2 separate regions of the Homo sapiens genome follow, and region 1 is linked to region 2. The links are contacts of gene promoters, found by promoter capture Hi-C in human tissues and cell types (Jung and others, 2019). All regions are on one chromosome and are shown on one strand. Each heading gives the region's core, a stretch centred on a gene start or on the middle of the fragment in contact. The rest is flanking DNA. Distances are from core to core; before and after follow the strand shown.

The links. Contacts are between HindIII fragments. The study calls those that stand out against the background at their distance.
Region 1: a fragment that was not itself captured here is called in contact with the fragment with the promoter of RALGAPA1 in region 2 in 1 of the 25 tissues and cell types used here (dorsolateral prefrontal cortex).

Annotation. Positions count from the first base shown.
Region 1 is chr14:37,188,042-37,195,154 of GRCh38, forward strand. No RefSeq gene overlaps it. Among named protein-coding and RNA genes, the nearest start is that of MIPOL1, 6.3 kb to the right of the region's middle. The HindIII fragment of the contact is 8,563 bases long and covers 362-7,113 here.
Region 2 is chr14:35,807,701-35,814,946 of GRCh38, forward strand. RALGAPA1 (Ral GTPase activating protein catalytic subunit alpha 1) reads right to left here and starts at 1,595. Exons shown (of 42, transcript NM_001346249.2): 1 at 1,030-1,595. The coding sequence starts at 1,135. RefSeq lists enhancers at 1,245-1,805, 1,642-1,741 and a silencer at 1,322-1,561. The HindIII fragment of the contact is 4,642 bases long and covers 605-5,246 here.

The DNA.
Region 1 (7,113 bases), core at 3,393-5,892, 1.4 Mb after region 2:
CTTTTCCCATGGTCTTTGCAACTGGCAGACCAGAAGATTCCCTCCCATGCCTGGCTTAGTGGGTCCCACACCCACGGAACCCTGCTTGCTGCTAGTGCAGCAGTCTGAGACAGACCTGGGATGCTGGATCTTGGTGGGGGTAGGGATGTCCACCATTGCTGAGGCTTGAGTAGGCAGTTCTATGCTCACAGTGTAAACAAAGCGGCAGGGAAGCTTGAACTGGGTGGAGCCCACTGCAGCTCAGCAAGGCCTACTGCCTCTCTAGATTCCACCTCTGGGGGCAGGACATATCTGAACAAAAGGCAGCAGAGAGCTTCTGCAGACTTAAACGTCCCTGCCTGACAGCTCTGAAGAGAGCAGTGGTTCTCCCAGCATGGTGTTTGAGCTCTGAAAACGGACAGACTGCCTCCTCAAGTGGGTCCCTGACCCGCATGTAGCTTGACTGGGAGACACCTCCCAGTAGGGGCCGACAGACACCTCATACAGACGGGTGCCCCTCTGGGACGAAGCTTCCAGAGGAAGGATCAGACAGCAATATTTGCTATTCTGCAGCCTCTGCTGTGATACCCAGGCAAACAGGGTCTTGAGTGGATCTTGCTGAGTAGGCCAAGCCTCAGCAAACCCCAACAGACCTGCAGCTGAGGGGCCTGTCTGTTAGAAGGAAAACTAACAAACAGAAAGGAATAGCATCAACATCAACAAAAAGGACACCCACACCAAAACCCCATCTGTAGGTCACCAACATGAAAGACCAAAGGTAGACAAAACCACAAAGATGGGGAGAAACCAGAGCAGAAAGTCTGAAAATTCCAAAAACCAGAACACCTCTTCTCCTCCAAAGGATCACAACTCCTCGACAGCAAGGAACACAAACCGGATGGAGAATGAGTTTCATGAGTTGACAGAAGCAGGCTTCAGAAGGTCAGTAATAACAAACTTCTCTGAGCTAAAGGAGCATGTTCTAACCCATCACAAGGAAGCTAAAAACCTTGAAAAAAGGTTAGATGAATGACTAACTAGAATAATCAGTGTAGAGAAGAGCTTAAATGACCTGATGGACTGAAAACCACAGTATGAGAACTTTGTGAAGCATACAGAAGCTTCAATAACCAATTCGATCAAGCAGAAGAAAGGATATCAGTGATTGAAGATCAAATGAATGAAATGAAGCTAGATGAGAAGTTTAGAGAAAAAAGAGTGAAAAGAAATGAACAAAGCCTCCAAGAAATATGGGACTATGTGAAAAGACCAAATCTACGTTTGATTGGTGTACCTGAAAATGACGAGAAGAGTGGAACCAAGTTAGAAGACACTCTTCAGGATATTATCCAGGAGAACTTCCCCAACCTAGCAAGGCAGGCCAACATTCAAATTCAGGAAATACAGAGAATGCCACAAAGATACTCCTCGAGAAGAGCAATCCCAAGACACATAATCATCAGATTCACCAAGGTTGAAATGAAGGAAAAAAAGTTAAGGGCAGCCAGAGAAAAAGGTCAGGTTACCCACAAAGGGAAGCCCATCAGACTAACAGCAGATCTCTCGGCAGAAACCCTACAAGCCAAAAGAGAGTGGGGACCAATACAATATTCAACATTCTTAAAGAAAAGAATTTTCAACCCAGAGTTTCATATCCAGCCAAACTAAGCTTCATAAGTGAAGGAGAAATAAAATCCTTTACAGACAAGCAAATGCTGAGAGATTTTGTTACCACCAAGCCTGCCTTACAAGAGCTCCTGAAGGAAGCACTAAACATGGAAAGGAACAATCGGTACCAGCCACAGCAAAAACATGCCAAGCTGTAAAGACCATCGATGCTAAGAAGAAACTGCATCAATTAATGGGTGAAATAACCAGCTAACATCATAACAACAGGATCAAATTCACACATAACAATATTAACCTTAAATATAAATGGGCTAAATACCCCAATTAAAAGACACAGACTGGCAAATTGGATAAACAGTCAAGACCCATTGGTGTGCTGTATTCAGGAGACCCATCTCATGTCCAAAGACACATATAGGCTCAAAATAAAGGGATGGAGGAAGACCTACCAAGTAAATGGAAAGAAAAAAAAAAAAAGCAGGGGTTGCAGTCCTGGTCTCTGATAAAACAGACTTTAAACCAAAAAAGATCAAAAGGGACAAGGCCATTACATAACGGTAAAGTGATCAATTCAACAACAAGAGCTAACTATCCTAAATATATATACACCCAAAACAGGAGCACCCAAATTCATAAAGCAAGTTCTTAGAGATCTAAAAAGAGACTTAGACTCCCACACAATAATAATGGGAGACTTTAACAACCCACCGTCAATGTTAGACAGATCAAGGAGACAGAAAATTAACAAGGATATCCAGGACTTGAACTCAGCTCTGGGCCAAGCAGACCTAGTAGACATCTACAGAACTCTCCATCCCAAATCAACACAATATACATTCTTCTCAGCACCACATCACACTTATTCTAAAATTGACAACATAAGTGGAACTAAAACACTCCTCAGCAAATGTAAAAGAACAGCAATCACAACAAACTGTCTCTCAGACCACAGTGCAATCAAATTAGAACTCAGGATTAAGAAACTCACTCAAAACCGCACAACTACATGAAAACTGAACAACCTGCTCCTGAATGACTACTGGGTAAATAACGAAATAAAGGTAGAAATAAAGATGTTCTTTGAAACCAATGAGAACAAAGACACAACATACCAGAATCCCTGGGACACATTTAAAGCAGTGAGTAGATGGAAATGTATAGCACTAAATGCCCACAAGAAAGCAGGAAAGATCTAAAGTTTATACCCCGGCATCACAATTAAAAGAACTAGAGAAGCAAGAGAAAACAAATTCAAAAGCTACCAGAAGACAAGAAATAACTAAGATCAGAGCAGAACTGAAGGAGATAGAGACACACACAAACACAAAAAAACCCTTCAAAAAAATCGATGAATTCAAGAGCTGGTTTTTTTGAAAAGATCAACAAAATTGATAGACTGCTAGCAAGATTAATAAAGAAAAAAAGAGAGAAGAATCAAATAGACACAATAAAAAAATCATAAAGGTGATATCAGCACCGATTCCACAGAAATACAAACTACCATCAGAAAATACTCTAAACACCTCTATGCTAATAAACTAGAAAATCTAGAAGAAATGGGTAAATTCCTGGACACATACACCCTCCCAAGACTAAACCAGGAAGAAGTTGAATCTCTGAATAGACCAATAACAGGCTCTGAAATTGAGGCAATAATTAATAGCCTACCAACCAAAAAAAGTCCAGGACCAGATGGAATCACAGCTGAATTCTACCAGTGGTACAAAGAGGAGCTGGTACCATTCCTTCTGAAACTATTCCAATCAATAGAAAAAGAGGGAATCCTCCCTAACTCATTTTATGAGGCCAGAATCATCCTGATACCAAAAGCCTGGCAGAGACACAACAAAAAAAGAGAATTTTAGGCCAATATCCATGATGAACATCTATGTGAAAATCCTCAATAAAATATTGGCAAACTGAATCCAGCAGCACATCAAAAAGCTTATCCACCACGATCAAGTGGGCTTCATCCCTGGGATGGAAGGCTGGTTCAACATATGCAAATCAATAAATGTAATCCATCACATAAACAGAACCAAAGACAAAAACCACATGATTATCTCAATAGATGCAGAAAAGGCCTCTGACAAAATTCAACCAGCCCTTCATGGTAAAAACCCTCAATAAACTAGGTATTGATGGAACGTATCTCAAAATAATAAGAGCTATTTATGACAGACCCACAGCCAATATCATACTGAACGGGCAAAAACTGGAAGCATTCCCTTTGAAAACAGGCACAAGACAGGGATGCCCTCTCTCACCACTCCTATTCAACATAGTGTTGGAAGTTCTGGCCAGGGAAATCAGGCAAGAGAAAGAAATAAAGGATATTGAATTAGGAAAAGAGGAAGTCAAATTGTCTCTGTTTGCAGATGACATGATTATATATTTAGAAAACCCCATCATCTCAGCCCAAAATCTCCTTAAGCTGATAAGCAACTTCAGGAAAGTCTCAGGATACAAAATCAATGTTCAAAAATCACAAGCATTCCTACACACCAAGAACAGACAAACAGAGAGCCAAATCATGAGTGAACGCTCATTCAGGATTACTACAAAGAGAATAAAATACCAAGGAATCCAACTTACAAGGGATGTCAAGGACTCCTTCAAGGAGAACTACAAACCACTGCTCAACGAAATAAAAGAGGACACAAACAATGGAAGAACATTCCGTGTTCATGAATAGGAAGAATCAATATTGTGAAAATGGCCATACTGCCCAACGTAGTTGATAGATTCAATGCTATCCCCATCAAGCGACCACTGACTTTCTTTACAGAATTGGAAAAATCTACTTTAAATTTTATATGTAACCAAAAAAGAGCCCGCATAGCCAAGGCAATCCTAAGCAAAAAGAACAAAGCTGGAGGCATCATGCTACCTGACTTCAAACTATACTACGAGGCTACTGTAATGAAAATAGCATGGTACTGGTACCAAAACAGATATAGAGACCAGTGGAACAGAATAGAGGCCTCAGAAATAATACCACACATCTACAGCCATCTAGTCTTTGACAAACCTGACGAAAATCAGCAATGGGAAAAGGATTCCCTATTTAATAAATGGTGCTGGGAAAACTGGCTAGCCATATGTAGAATGCTGAAACTGGATCCCTTCCTTACACCTTATACAAAAATTAACTCAAGATGGATTAAAGACTTAAATGTAAGACCTAAAAGCATAAAAACCCTAGAAGAAAACCTAGGCATTACCATTCAGGACATAGGCATGGACAAATACTTCATGACTAAAACACCAAAAGCAATGGCAATGAAAGCCAAAATAGACATATGGGATCTAATTAAACTAAACAGCTTCTGCACAGCAAAAGAAACTATCATCAGAGTGAATAGGCAACCTACAGAATAGGAAAAATTTTTTTCAATCTATCCATCTGACAAATGGCTAATATCCAGAATCTACAAAGAACTTAAACACATTTACAAGAAAAAAACTAACAACCCCCTCAAAAAGTTGGCAAAGGATATGAAGAGACACTTCTCAAAATAAGACATTTATGCAGCCAACAGACATATGAAAAAATGCTCATCATCACTGGTCATCAGAGAAATGCAAATCAAAACCACAATGAGATACCATCCCACACCAGTTAGAATGGTGATCATTAAAAAGTCAGGAAACAACAGATGCTGGAGAGGATGTGGAGAAATAGGAATGCTTTCACACTGTTGGTGGGAGTGTAAATTAGCTCAACCATTGTGGAAGACAGTGTGGGCGATTCCTCAAGGACCTAGAACTAGAAATACCATTTGACCCAGCAATCTCATTACTGGGTATATACCCAAAGGATTATAAATCATGCTACTATAAAGACACATGCACAAGTATGTTTATTGCGGTACTATTCACAATAGCAAAGACTTGGAACCAACCCAAATGTCCATCAATGATAGACCAGATTAAGAAACTGTGGCACATGTACACCATGGAAAACTATGCAGTCATAAAAAATGATGAGTTCATGTCCTTTGTAGGGACATGGATGAAGCTGGAAACCATCGTTCTCAGCAAAATATCACAAGGACAGAAAACCAAACACCACATGTTTTCACTCATAAGTGGGAATTGAACAATGAGAATACATGGACGCAGGGAGGGGAATATCACACACCCGGGCCTGTTGGGTGGGGGGGGGCTGGGGGAGGGATAGCATTAGGAGAAATACCTAATATTAATGACAAGTTGATGGGTGCAGCAAACCAACATGGCACATGTATACCGATGTAACCAATCTGTACGTTGTGCACATGTACCCTAGAACTTAAAGTGTATGAAAAAAGCCTATTAAAAAATGAATCATGATCCTTTAGACAGGTAGTAGCTAAAGGATCCTCATATCCTTTAAAAGGATTACTGTAGTCAAGCAAAGTGCTATGAGACTGACTTGAAAATTTAAAAAATAGCTTTATCCATCATATCTATGTTCATTAATCTCATGTCTAGCCCAGTCTAGAATGCTTCCTTGCATATGACTGCTGGAAAGCTACTCTAAGATGCTTCCCTAGCAATTCAAACTCATTCTATCAAAACTGAACTTACTTATTCACCAATTTCTTTAATACCATCAACACTTTCCTCTTTCTCAACTAGTTATTTACCAGATTTTGCAAACTATTTCCTACTTCTTCAAGCTACCCTTTTCCATCTATCGTGCTTTACCACATACATTTTATTATTTATTTATTTATTTATTTATTTTTTGAGACAGGGTCTAACTCTGTCACCCAGGCTAGAGTGCAGTGGTACAATCTCAGCTCACTGCAACCTCCACCTCCTGGTTCAAGTGATTCTCATGCTTCAGCTTCCTGAGTAGCTGGGATTACAGACATGTGCCACCATGCCTGGCTATTTTTTGTATTTTTAGTAGAGACGGTGGGGGGAGGTCCCACCATGTTGGATAGGGTGGTCTCCAACTCCTAGCCTCAAGTGATCCACCCACCTCAGCCTCCCAAAGTGCTGGGGTTACAGGCATGAGCCACAGAGCCCAGCCTTTTTATCGTTTTTCAATTAGATTAACTAGTCTTGCAAACTTGAGAATTTTGATTCTGAAACGTATTTCTAAATTGATGAATGAAAGTGTAAATCTAATCTCATCACTCCTGTTTTAACTTTCAAAATTCATTGACTATAGAATCAAGTCCAAGGTACTTAATTAGGAGATCATTTATATTGCCTGGCATGGTGACTCATGCATGTAATCCGAGCACTTTGGGAGGCCAAAGTGGGAGGACTGCTTGAGGCCAGGACTTTGATACCAGCCCCAGCAACATAGTGAGTCCCCAACTCTATTTTTAAAAAAGACCTTTCATAATCTCTCCAACTTCATTTCCCACCACTTTCCATGTTAAATTTTATACTGTGATATTAAATTGCTTATAGCTCCTTACAGTATCTCACTCCCATATTGATTCCTTTATAAGGAATTCTGTTTTCTCTGCACCTCCACCCTCACCTCTTCACCTTGCTAAGTCT
Region 2 (7,246 bases), core at 345-2,844:
TTGGTGGTATCCTGGTGGTATGAGTAAACAATAGACTAGAGAAACATGTACCTCAAATAAGGGACTTACTTTTTTCACTAAATAAACATCACTTTCCAAAACAAATACGCATCAGGAGGACAGCTCGAGATAAACTCTGAACTAGGATTCAGGCATCTGGATGAATGCATCTTCTTCAGCCAGTTCCACCATTAACTCTAAGTATCAACACAGGCGAAATAATTTTCCTTTTCATCTCAAATGTCTTCATCTAAAAAATCCAACTACTGGACCAGATGTTCCATAAGTATTATTACAGCCTTTATCAGCCTACCAAATGACTAAGTATTCAAAAGAGTCGATTAACATTATATTCAAAACTTAGAGCACTGTTTGGTCTACCAGCAAAACAGAACTTAAGGGCAGACGATAAAAAAAATATTTTTAATTAAAAATAGAATTATATACAATTCTCGAGAAGCAAAGGATGAGTTAAACTACCTATAATAGTTCTCCCTCTAAATGACTAGTGATGAACAAGGTGCATTAACAAAAGGGCGGGGCTCCTTCCCACAGCTTTTTGGGAACCGCCCACTTCCCAAAGAGGTGTAACTGCTACCTCCTTGTCTTCATCTGCCAAGAAACTTGAAAGATTAAGGTTTATATTGTCTGAGAGAGGATTTTATTTTTCTTTTTACTTGGGTGGGGTTGGCAGTAGTCATCTGGCAAACATATCCTATAAACACCATTATCCACAACGCCAGGTCTCCCCACAAAGTCTTAAAGATCTAAGTTTTTAGAGTAATACCAATTTTAAAAAATAAGTTCAGACTATTAACTCAAAATTAGATTACTGTGTTAACAGTAATCAGTGCTGCCAACTGCCAAGTTTTCGCTTCTCCGAATTATTCACCCTCCCGCGTCTCCGCAGAGGCTACGATTTGCCCTCTCCTGCACCGCGCCAGGTCCCGAGAGAGAGTCCGCAGGGGCTCCCAGGAGAGGGAAGGCCGGGCAACCCAGGCCTCGGCGCTGCCACCCCTCGCTCCTCACCGATGACGATGCGCAGGTGCTTGAGGCGAGTCAGTGCGTCCTTCTTGGTGTCTAGCACCTTCTGGGTGGACTTCTTCACGTCCCCGTGCGGCTTCTTGGAGAACATCCTGTCGCTGCCACTGCCACTGCCACTGCCACAGCCGGCTCCCAGCCGGGTCCCGGCGGCAGAAAGTGGAGGGAGTGGACGGGGAGGAGACTAGCCAGAGAGGCTCATTAGCTCCCCAGCCTTGCGGGCCAGGGCAGAGCCGACTCCTTCCCGATCCAGGCCAGGGCCGCCACCTCCACCCGCCTCGCGCCGCGGCTCCAAGGCACCTTCGGCCCCAGCTCCAATATGGCGGATCCCTCTCCCGGCCCTGCACGGAGCGAGGCAGACCCGGGCTGGCCGCCTGCCGCCGCCGCTCGTCTCCAGCGGCCGCCGCTCGCCGCCACAGGCCGGGGCCCCGGACCCAGAGCCACGAAGGTGGAGCTCTCGGCGGCAGGAGCACAACTCTCTCCCTGAGGCCCCCTTAAGGTTGAAGCTTCTTTAGCAGCTTACACCCTGCAGAGGCCGAAACGGAGACGAGTGTGGTAGTGATGGGGTTTCACGACTCTGCCGTCGGTGGCGAACGGTGTCCGTGGCAACCGCCTTCTGACGTCAAGAGTTCTTGACGTCATGCCAGCATGAGATCACCCGTGGCACTCCCCGCCTTGGTTTCCTGTGTAAGCAGCCAAAGGAGAATCTCAAGAAAGGCAAGGAAGGTAGTTACTGCGTGCTCCATTGTAAGCCAAATGATAGTAATAAGCAAAGAGAAGTAATCTTTATTAAATATGTCCATGATTTATCTTTGAAAATGTGCATAAGTTGTTGTGGCCACCAGATCCTCTAGCAGAAAGATAAACGAAGTTACAGTTGGGCAATTTATTCTGTCCTAAATCTATTACTAATAATATTTCCTGCACTATGTATGTGATTTCTTTCATATTTTTTCTATTTGCAATATCCCTGTTTTTTGCTGCAAACAACTTGACAACAGAAAGGCTTAAGCAGAGGTATCTAGGTTTTTTAAATAAAAGTAATCTTGCTTTCCTTTTCTATTGTGCTTTTAAAAATCTTTTCCCCATCTGCACCCCACATAAAGATGAATATATTGTCAGTTTTTCCTCTGCAAAGAAGAATTCAAGGTTCTTATTACATTGATGGAGTCATCTGAAGAATCTGCAATAGCTGAAAAAAATCCGTGAAATTCTGAATGACATAAATTGAAATTTTTATTGGAACCCTTTTTTTTTTTTTCCTTTTTCCTTTTCTTTCCAGACAGGGTCTCTGTGTCCCAGGCAGAAGTGCAGTGGTGTGATCTCAGCTCACTGAAGCCTCGAACTCCCAGGCTCAGGTGATGCTCCCACCTCAGCCTACCGAGTAGCTGGGACCACAGGTGCGCGCCACCACATCCAGCTAATTTTTGTGTTTTTTGTAGAGACGGGGTTTCGCCATTTTGCCCAAACTGGTCTAAAACTCCTAGACTCAAGTGATCCGCCCGCCTCAGCCTACCAAACTGCTGGGATTACAGGCGTGAGGCCACTGCGCCTGGCCAGGAACATTTCCTCCACAAAATAATTTGATAAAGAGTGAGTTTGCTTGTTTGAACTGTTTCCTTCTATGTTCTCACCCATAGCAATAGACTTGTCCAATGAAATATGTGATTAACATAGAAAAATAACAAAATCAGCAAAGAAGAGAGATGTAAGACATTTGCCAAAATTATGTTAAAATATAGTGCTTTGCTTAATGGTAGTTTGTTTCAACAACAATCCTATATTTTTTAAAGTACAAAAAATTTATTCAGTTTCTACATGTAGGGTTTGTTTGTATCATCAAACTTACAAGCCATACATGTTTTGAGGAAGCTTATAACATAATAGAAAAATAAGGGGATTGTTCAAGAGATTTTAGTTCTAGTTCCTCTCAGCATCAGTTTTCTTATTAATAAAATCAAAATAAGGTCTGTCCCTCACAGTTTCGTGAAATTTAGGCAATAATACAATGTTTTCAAGCATGATCTTTAGAATTACATAGACCTAAATTAGACATTCTGTTTTTCACTTGCAAGGACTTACTTGCTCTCGGGCCCTTGGCATGTAGTTCAGTCTCAGCCTGATTTTCCTCATTTGTAAACTACATCAGTGATTGTGATAATTAGGTGAGAAAAGTATTGAAAGTTACATCTATAATGACACATCTCATAACATTCCTTTCCTTCATAGAATTTAAATACAGTAATTTGTGTAACTGTTTACAGATTCTCTCTTTCATGAGACTGTAAACTCCCTGAGGACAGAGACTGTATAGATTGTCTAAAGTTGTATCCCAGTCTTCTTGCAAAGTGCTCTTTGCAAGATAGGCTCAATAAATCTGTGTCGAATAGAAGAACGAATGTCACTGTCCCTTCCTTTCTCTTGCGCAAGTACTCAGTAAATGTTTGGCAAATGAGTGACATAATTTTAGAGAATAAAAATGTAACATATCGTTAAAAATAATTATATGGCTGGTATACCTGAGAAAAAATGAAAACACCATTGCAAAACAAACTAGTATAATGTAATTTACATATGGCACACCCATCCCACTGCCTGGTTTTTCTCTTCCCATTGATTTAAATATTAAAATTCTTTGAAAGATAAGTCTTCCCCACAGCAGACATAATTATCATGGAAATAAAACCCAGAAATATACCTTTGAAATATTGCTTGTGAGGGCCAGGCACGGTGGCTCATGCCTGTAATCCCAGCACTTTGGGAGGCCGAGGCAGGCGGATCACAAGGTTAGGAGAGTTCAAGACCAGCCTGACCAACATGGTGAAACCCCGTCTCTACTAAAAATACAAAAAAATTAGCCAGGCGTGGTGGGGCACGCCTGTAATCCCAGCCACTCAGGAGACTGAGGCAGGAGAATTGCTTAAACCCAGGAGGCGGAGGTTGCAGTAAGCCAAGATTGCACCACTGAACTCCAGCCTGGTTGACAGAGTGAGACTCTGTCTCAAAAAAAAAAAAAAAAAAAAAAAAAAAAAAAAATATATATATATATATATATATATATATATTGCTTGTGAGAACTAGATTTTTTTTCTTTTAGTGACTGGGTCTTGCTCTGTCATCCAGGCTGGAATGCAGTGGTGCAGTCACAGCTCACTTTAGCCTTAACTTCCTGGACTCAAGCAATCCTCTCACCTCAGCCTCCCATGCAGTTGGTAACACAGGCAGGTGCCAAAAAGCCCAGCTAATTAAAAAAAAATTTAGTAGATGGCCAGGCGTGGTGGCTCACTCCTGTAATCCCAGCACTTTGGGAGGCCGAGGCAGGTGGATTACCTGAGGCCAGGATTTCAAGACCAGCCTGACCAATATGGAGAAACCCCTTCTCTATTAAAAATACAAAATTAGCCAGGAGTGGTGGCGCGTGCCCATAACCCCAGCTACTCGGGAGTCTGAGGCAGGAGAATCACTTGAACCTGGGAGGCGGAGGTTGCGGTGAACTGAGATCGTGCCATTGCACTCCAGCCTGGGCAACAAGAGCGAAACTCCATCTCACAAAAAAAAAAAAAAAAAAAAAAAAAAAAAATTTAGTAGAGACAAGGTCTCACTATTTTGCCCAGGCTGGTCTTTAACTCCTGGCCTCAAGGGATCCCCCTACCTCAGCCTCCCAAAGTGTTGGGGTTACAGATTACAGGCATGAACCACCACACCTGGCCTACACACAAATGTTTATAGCAATTTTATTCCTAACTCCAAAAACTAGAAGCAACCAAGATATCTTTCAGTAGTTAAATGAATAAACATACTGTGGTACATCCATACAATGGAATATTATTCAGCAATAAAAAGAAATGAGTTCTTGAGCCACAAAAAGACATGTATGACACTTAAATGCATATTGCTAAGTGAAAGAAGCCAGTCTGAAAATGCTACATACTGTATGATTCTAGTTATATGACATTCTGGAAAAGGCAATATTATAGCAATAGTAAAAAGATCAGTGGTTGCAAGAGGATTGAGGGGAGGGAGAAGAAGATTGAATAGGTGAAGGATGGGATATTTTTTAGGGTGGTGAAACTATTCTTTTTTTTTTTTTTTTTTTTTTTTTTTTTTTTTTTTTGAGACAGAGTCTCACTCTGTCACCCAGGCTGGAGTACAGTGGTGCAAACTTGGCTCACTGCAACCTCCGCCTCCTGGGGGCTCAACACCACACTCAGCTAATTTGTTTGACTTTTAGTAAAGATGGGATTTCACCATGTTGCCCAGGCTGGTCTTGAACTTCTGGGCTCAAGCGATCCGCCTGCCTTGGCCTTCTAAAGTGCTGGGATTACAGGTGTAAGCCACTGTGCCCCACCCCCACCCATATACTTCAAATCATCTCTAGATTCTTTAAAATACCTAATGCAATGTAAATGCTATGTAAATAGTTGGTATTCTGTATTGTTTAGGGAATAATGACAAGAAAAAAAAAGTCTGTGTGTGTTCAGTACAGATGTAACCATCCATTTTTTTCTGATTCCTAGTTGGTGGAATCCACAGATGCAGCACTCATGGATACAGAGGGCCAACTGCACACATATGTTTACTAGCACATCTATATACACATACCTATAAATATTTCTGTACATAACCATCTGTATCTGTATTAAGCTAAACATGAATTAATACCTATGTGGTGCCTCAACTCTAATCCATTACTAGATGAATCATTCTACCCTTCTCCCTTTACTTATTATAAACTCCCACTCCAACAATAAGATACTTGGTTCCCACCATATACCAAACATTTACTTATTTTATTGCAGTATACATGTATAACAGTATCAGAATTGTTAACCTACTTTCCCATGAGAAACAACTTTATTAACTAGAGTACCGTGCATATGTACATTTTCTTTTGTCTTTAGTCTTACAGATTCCACTCATTCCCAAATAAGTACCTTTTTCTACACCTTCTTTAGTGAGGTTGTTTCATACTTATAATACAGTTTGATTATTTTGTCACATTTTGTGTTCCAGTGGGATCCTCTGATTTCTTTTAATGTGCATACGTTAAGGTTCATTCTACATGCTATAAAATAGTTCTATGAGTATTGGCAAATGCATAGGGTCATGTATCCACAATTACAGTATCATATAGAATAGTTTCTGGCTGGGTGTGGTGGCTCATGCCTGTAATGCCAGCACTTTGGGAGGCCAAGACAGGCAGATCACTTGAGGTCAGGAGTTCAAGACCAGCCTGCCCAACATGGTGAAAACCAGCTACTCAGGAGGCTGAGGCAGGAGAATTGCTTGAACTTGGGAGGTGGAGGTTGCAGTGAGACGAGATCACGCCACTGCACTCCAGCCTGGGTGGCAGAGTGAGACTCCATCTCACTCAAAAAAAATCTATTTTTTATTTAAATTAAAAAAAATTTCCCTTAGACTACTCAGCAGAAAAAAAAATCTATTATTTTTTCTATCACAAAAAATATTTGGTGAGAAAAGTGTTATAGCTTATTTTTTTTTTTTGCAAATTTGCTTATAGTTTGGCTTAATTAAAGACAGCTGGATTCTTATATACACTATTCTCTTTTGGTTGAAGTATATGAAGGTAATCTGGCTTCATATGTATATGTAATTGGTAAAAAGAGTGTTTTAATATGTTTTTTAGATAATTGTTGACACTACAATAAAAGTCAACAAGTGGTAGTTTTTAAAATTTCAACTTTTATTTTAGATTCAGGGGGTACACGTGCAGGTTTGTTACATGGGTACAGTGCATGATGCTGAGGTTTAGGGTACAATTGAATCCATCACACAGGGAGTGAGCATAGTACCCAATAGTTTTTCAACCCTTTCTCTGCTCCCTGCTGCCCCCTTCTGGTAGTCTCCAGTGTCTGGCATAAAGATTATGTCCTTGTGTACCCAACGTCAAGCCCCCAACAAGAGGTAGTTTCTTAAAGATGAGTTGCAGTAAGGAATATGAAAGCCTATCAGTAAGAATTTTGTACTCCTTATATTAAAATCTTGTACTTTGAATAGATCTTTCACCTATACATAATTTTGTAACATTATGCATTCATCAAAATAATTGTTTGCTGACTTATACAGAGCTTTAAAATGCTAACACATTTCATTAAATAACATAAAAAAAAACCTCACATACATCAGAAAGCCTTTAAGTATTGGAAAGTTTTCATACTCACAATGGTTGGTAAAAGTTTTTCAA